Regions from separate parts of the Homo sapiens genome. Here region 1 is linked to region 2. The links are contacts of gene promoters, found by promoter capture Hi-C in human tissues and cell types (Jung and others, 2019). All regions are on one chromosome and are shown on one strand. The core of a region is centred on a gene start or on the middle of the fragment in contact, and the rest is flanking DNA. Distances in the headings are between cores, read along the strand shown. Region 1 overlaps BIN2 (bridging integrator 2). Region 2 holds the start of ATF1 (activating transcription factor 1).

Region 1 (2,700 bases), core at 139-2,638, 520 kb before region 2:
AGGAGCCAAGACTCTTTCTGACCATTTTAAGAAACAGGCTAGTAACACTGTCCTCCCTGGAAAAGAGGTACAGGATACACTCTCCTTCCGCCTGAGTCTGTCTCCTTATATTTTAGATTTATAATATTTCCTTACTCTTAGCCTCTCTGGTGGGATTGCTTTGGTCATCAGCTAAGGAGAAATATTTTTCCTGTAGAATTAAGCAACTAGAGCATCTTAGATCCTAGCCTATTCGTGTCATCAATCCTCTGAAGCCTGTGTATGCTCACTTCCCTTGCAGATGCATTATAAATCATATTTTCTCTCAGGCAGAATTATGGACATGTCACATGTAAAAATGGGTAAATATAAATATAACTGGGAAAAAACATAGCCATTTTTGAAAAAAAATTACTGGGAAAAAATCTGTTCTTGCTTACCATTTGAATCATCTCAGAGAGATGGAAGGTTTTGATAACTTTCCGGGAGGTGATGTAACATCACCTCTGAGCTAATTCATGACCTGGAAAGGGAGGAGGGAGTAAAAAGAAAGAAAATGTCCTTGAAGGAGAAATCTTGGAATTTCAAGTGGCTATCACACTGTTAGAAATTGGTTCTGTTGGCCAGGTGCCATGGCTCACACCTGTAATCCCAACACTTTGGGAGGCTGAGGGGAGTGGATCACTTGAGGTTGGGAGGTTGAGACCAGCCTTGCTAACATAGTGAAGCCTCATCTCTACTAAAAGTCAGGCATGGTGGTGGGCGCCTGTAATCCCAGCTACTTGGGAGACTGAGGCAGGAGAATCGCTTGAACCTGGGAGGTGGAGGTTGCAGTGAACCAAGATCACGCCACTGCACTCCAGCCTGGGTGACAGAGCCAGATTCCTTCTCAAAAAAAAAAAAAAAGAAAGAAAGAAAAAATTAAAAAGAAATTGGTTCTGTTTTTAAAATATGAATTTATAGTTTGTAAATTAAATTTCATGTTTTAAAAACTTATTTTAAACCTCACAGGGTCTTCCCCTAGCATAGCAGTTTCTAGGCAGGGCTTTCTTTCTTTTTTTTAAAATTTATATTTTTAGAGATGATCTCACTATGTTGCCCAGGCTGGAGTGCAGTGGGTATTCACAGGTGCAATCATAGTGCACTGCAACCTTGATACTCCTGGCCTCAAGTGATCCTCCTGCCTCAGCCTCTCAAGGAGCTGGGACTACAGGTGTGCACCCCTGCACGTGGTCTAGACTGGGCTTCCTACACCTTGGGTTCCCATCTCAGAACCTAAAATTTTTCCCAAAGAAATTATTTTACCACTTGCTTCTCCTAACTGCGTGTCATGAATTAGGATCACTTAAGTGTGAGAGTTGCAGTACATTCTTGAGGACGGTTCATCTAAAAGTGGCAGGTAGTAATTTTAAGACCTCGCACTCCCTTATAGATACACATCCACACCATGTCACACAGATTACATGGTGTTTGATCATGGAAACAACTCAGGAATTCAAAGACCTGGTTTCCTGTCCCAGCAAGTCTTTTTACCCTTTGAATCTTAGTTTATTCATCTGTAAAAGAGGATGGATGAAAGCCTTTCCCGATGCCTTCAGGCTCTGGTGAAACAACACTGTATTTTGCCCTTTGTAATAGTACAAATACTGAGACCCTTGTAAAGTATAAGGCACAGAAGACACTTCTATGCTGAGAGGCTGGAAAGGTTGAGCCACCTCTTACTGGCAGAACTCTTCTCTTTGTAGGGCCAAGACCAGCTTCAAGTCTCCATGGTACCAGAAAACAACAACCTCACAGCACCTGAACCTCAAGAAGAGGTAAGACCAGATATACAGAGAATAGATTGGGCATTAGATTGACAGGGGTTTGGGAAAAGGCTGGAATCTTCACCACAGGCTACAAGGGGAATCCGGCAGTGAACCATACCCTTAGGGCAGTCAAGCAGGTGGGAATCAGAGGAAACAAGAATGAACTGGGACTTCGTGGTATCTCCGTGCCCATTTTCCTATACTTGACCTTAAACTGGCCCTATCTTCTAGGTATTTATTTAATTAAATCTCAAATTATTTCAAAAAGGAGTTAAAGAGGTTAAGATATTTTTTTTAAATGCAAAAAGGTCATATTATACAGTAATGTGTTGCTCAACAACAAGGATATGCTCTGAGAAATGCATTATTAGACGATTTTGTCATTATGTGTGGCTGTATGGTATAGCCTATTGCTTCTAGGCTGCAAACCTATACAGCATGTTACTTTACTGAATTCTGTAGGCAGCTGTGACACAGTGGTTAATATTTGTGTATCTAAACATAGAAAAGTACAGTAAAAATAGCATATAGAAAATAAAAAGTGATACACTTGTATAGGGCACTATCATGAGTGGAGCTTGCAGGAGTGGAAGCTTCTCTGGGTGAGTCAGTGAGTGAGTGGTGAGTGAATGTGAAGGCCTAGGACATTACTTACACTCCTATAGACTATAAACACTGTACACTTAGGCTACACCATTAAAAAATATTTTTCTTTTCTTTTTTTTTTTTTTGAGACGGAGTTTCACTCTTGTTGCCCAGGTTGGAGTGCAATGGCATGATCTCGGCTCACCGCAGCCTTGGCCTCTGGGTTCAAGCAATTCTCCTGCCTCAGCCTCCTGAGTAGCTGGGATTACAGGCATGCGCCACCACGCCCAGCTAATTTTGTACTTTTAGTAGAGACGGGGTTTCTCCA
Region 2 (2,700 bases), core at 178-2,677:
AACAAACAAACAAAACAAAACAAAAACTGGCAAAGATAGCACACCCTATATTTAAAGTCAGAAGGGACTGCCACCTGCTGGTGATCGGGTAGGAATGGACAGATAGCTCACAGACCAAACCTAACCCTAAAAGATAACGGCAAGTATTAAAGAGCTAATACATTCGACTTTAGGGCAACAGTATTGATTCTAATTAAGACACGGAGATAACTGCATATGATAAACTCCAAGAAAAAAGAGCATTTTAGAAGAACGCATTTCTGTTAACAAAAACCTCAGGTTAAAATGCATTCTGAGACATAAATGCCTACGAACTCATCACAGGTGAGGCCAGTTTGACAAAGATGCCTGCCAGATCCACGCCGAGCTTCTGAACCCTAAAGGTTCTCAAAGACTACCAGTTGCCCAATCTCTTCAAAACACTAGCGCCACAACCAGACATTATTTCACATTGCAATCATTTCAAAGCGATTCAGCCGCCAGCTGCACGGCGTCGATCAAAGTGAGAAATGCCAGGCTTCGTTTTTTGACATACAAGATCAAAGAGAAAGTCACCCTCGGCTGGGTCGCCCATCCCAAAGGGTACAGACGCCCTTGTGTCATTCCTAGCCAGGGGTAAAGCCGCCTACTGTCCCCACTCTGTCTCCGCTGCCAGGCGCATCTCTCCAGGACTGTCTGGGGCGTGCGCAATGCCCGTGCGTCGGTTGCCCGCTAGACTGCAAGCTCCAGGAGGGTAAGGGGCGCGCCTCTTCCCTCAGGGTCGCCAGCGCCGACGCGCTTCGAGGACCCTGTCGCGGGGTTAACCAGACCCGGGCTCCGCTCGGCGGACACCGCGCCGAGGCCATATCCGCGCCGCCCTCCGCCCGGCTCCGGGCCCAACCTCGAGACCTCCCACGGAGAGCTAGCGCCTGCGACTGCAAAGGGCGGCTTCTGAGGCGAAAGCCACCCCGCGGCGGGCGGTTTCGGGCTTTACTTTTATTTGGGGGCGAGGGAAAGGAGGAGACGCACGACTGGAAGGGCGCAGCGCAGCTCTGCACCGAGGCGCGGAGGCCGGAAGCGCGGGCGGCCCCTCCCCCTGCCGCTGCGCCCCTCCCCCACCGCCACCACCGCGCGCGACCCCCACCAGGCGCGCGACCCGCGCTGCGTCCCCGCCGGCGCCACGTTCCCGCGTCCTTCCCCGCCCGGGCCACGGGGCACGTCCCTCCCCGCCCCCCACTTACCTGTGGCTGCCGCCTCGCCGCTCTCCGGGGCGGGAACTTCCACTCCCCCCTCCCAGGTAGATCCGAATTCACTACCCACTTCCCCACCCCCTCACGCAGCGGGGGACAAGCCTCCTTCTCGGGGGTCAGGCGGGGCGGGGAGAATCAGTGTCACTTAACAGCCAACTGTCCTAAGCTACCGTTTCCTCGGCAGTCAGGGCCGCTACTGGCGGCATGATCTACACAAGCCTGGGGGCGGGGGCGGGGGCGGGGGAGGGGAGGGGGGCAAAACTGAGCACTAGTGTGCGTTTGGGGTAGGCTATGGCGCTGCCTCCGCGCGGGCCGCCGTCCTGCGTCACCGCGCTGCCCACGTGACGCGCCGCCATCTTGTACGCGGTCCTGACTTGTGGCTAGGGGTTCCTCGGAACGCGTTCCTCAGGCTGCAGCGGGAGAGGGACGGTGCCTGCGGTTCCGTTTCTCCTTAGGAGCTGTACCCCACCCGCCCTACGTCCGCTTCCGGAGGCCATGAGCAGCTGGGTGCTCGCGGGGGGCGTTTTCATCGATTAGTGGCGGCGCTGTCAACTCACCTGCCAATTGACCTTGACCGACGCCGGCCCTGTCCTCTTGGAAGGAGAAATGAAGAGTGAAGGCTTTGACTTCCTCAGCTTTTTTTTTTTTTTTTTTTTTTTAGATGGAGTCTCTTTTTTTTTTCCGAGATTGAGACGGGGGTCTGTGGCCCAGGCTGTAGTGCAGTGGTTCGATCTCGACTCACTGCAGCCTCCAACCCCGGGATTCAAGCGATTCTCCAACCTCAGCCTATGGGGCAGCTGGGACCACAGGCGCGCGCTACCACGCTCGGCTTGAAGAGATGAGGACTCTATGTTGCTCAGGCTGGTCTTGAACTCCTGGGCTCAAGTGATCCTCCGCCTCGGCCTCTCAAAGTTCTGGGATTACAGGCGTGAGCCACCGTGCCCGGCCTTACTCAGATTTTTCTTAATCCCATAAAGTAACAATGAGTTGTGTCCTTTAACCCATGTGGAAGGATTTTCTACAGAAACGGATTTACAATGAGACATAACGATGTGGCCGGGCGCGGTGGCTCATGCCTGTAATCCCAGCACTTTGGGAGGCCCAGGAGGGCGGATCACCTGAGATCGGGAGTTCGAAACCAGCCTGACCAACATGGAGAAACCCCGTCTCTACTAAAAAATACAAAAGTAGCCGGGTGTGGTGGCGAATGCCTGTAATCCAAGCTACTTGGGAGGCTGAGGCAGGAGAATCGCTTGAACCCGGGAGGCGGAGGTTGCGGTGAGCCGAGATCGCACCGTTGCACTCCAGCCTGGGCAACAAGAGCAAAACTGTCTCAAAAAAAAAGAAAAAAGAAACGTAACAGAGTGTTAATAAAATGTTATGCCGTCATTTTAATGCATTACAAAAACTTCAGAATATTTTTGGGTCTACCTCTCTGGAAGGGAGTTATGCCTTATTCTTAATTTTTAAA

What was found. The method cuts DNA at HindIII sites, captures the fragments that hold promoters and counts their contacts. A contact is called where the count stands out against the background at its distance.
Region 1: a fragment that was not itself captured here is called in contact with the fragment with the promoter of ATF1 in region 2 in 1 of the 25 tissues and cell types used here (aorta).

The regions. Positions count from the first base shown.
Region 1 is chr12:51,283,812-51,286,511 of GRCh38, reverse strand. BIN2 (bridging integrator 2) reads left to right here. Exons shown (of 13, transcript NM_016293.4): 12 at 1,725-1,796. Among named protein-coding and RNA genes, the nearest start is that of SMAGP, 15 kb to the right of the region's middle. The HindIII fragment of the contact is 4,435 bases long and covers 1-2,700 here.
Region 2 is chr12:50,762,828-50,765,527 of GRCh38, reverse strand. ATF1 (activating transcription factor 1) reads right to left here and starts at 1,427. Exons shown (of 7, transcript NM_005171.5): 1 at 1,221-1,427. RefSeq lists an enhancer at 564-663 and silencers at 1,084-1,173, 1,394-1,473. The HindIII fragment of the contact is 17,018 bases long and covers 1-2,700 here.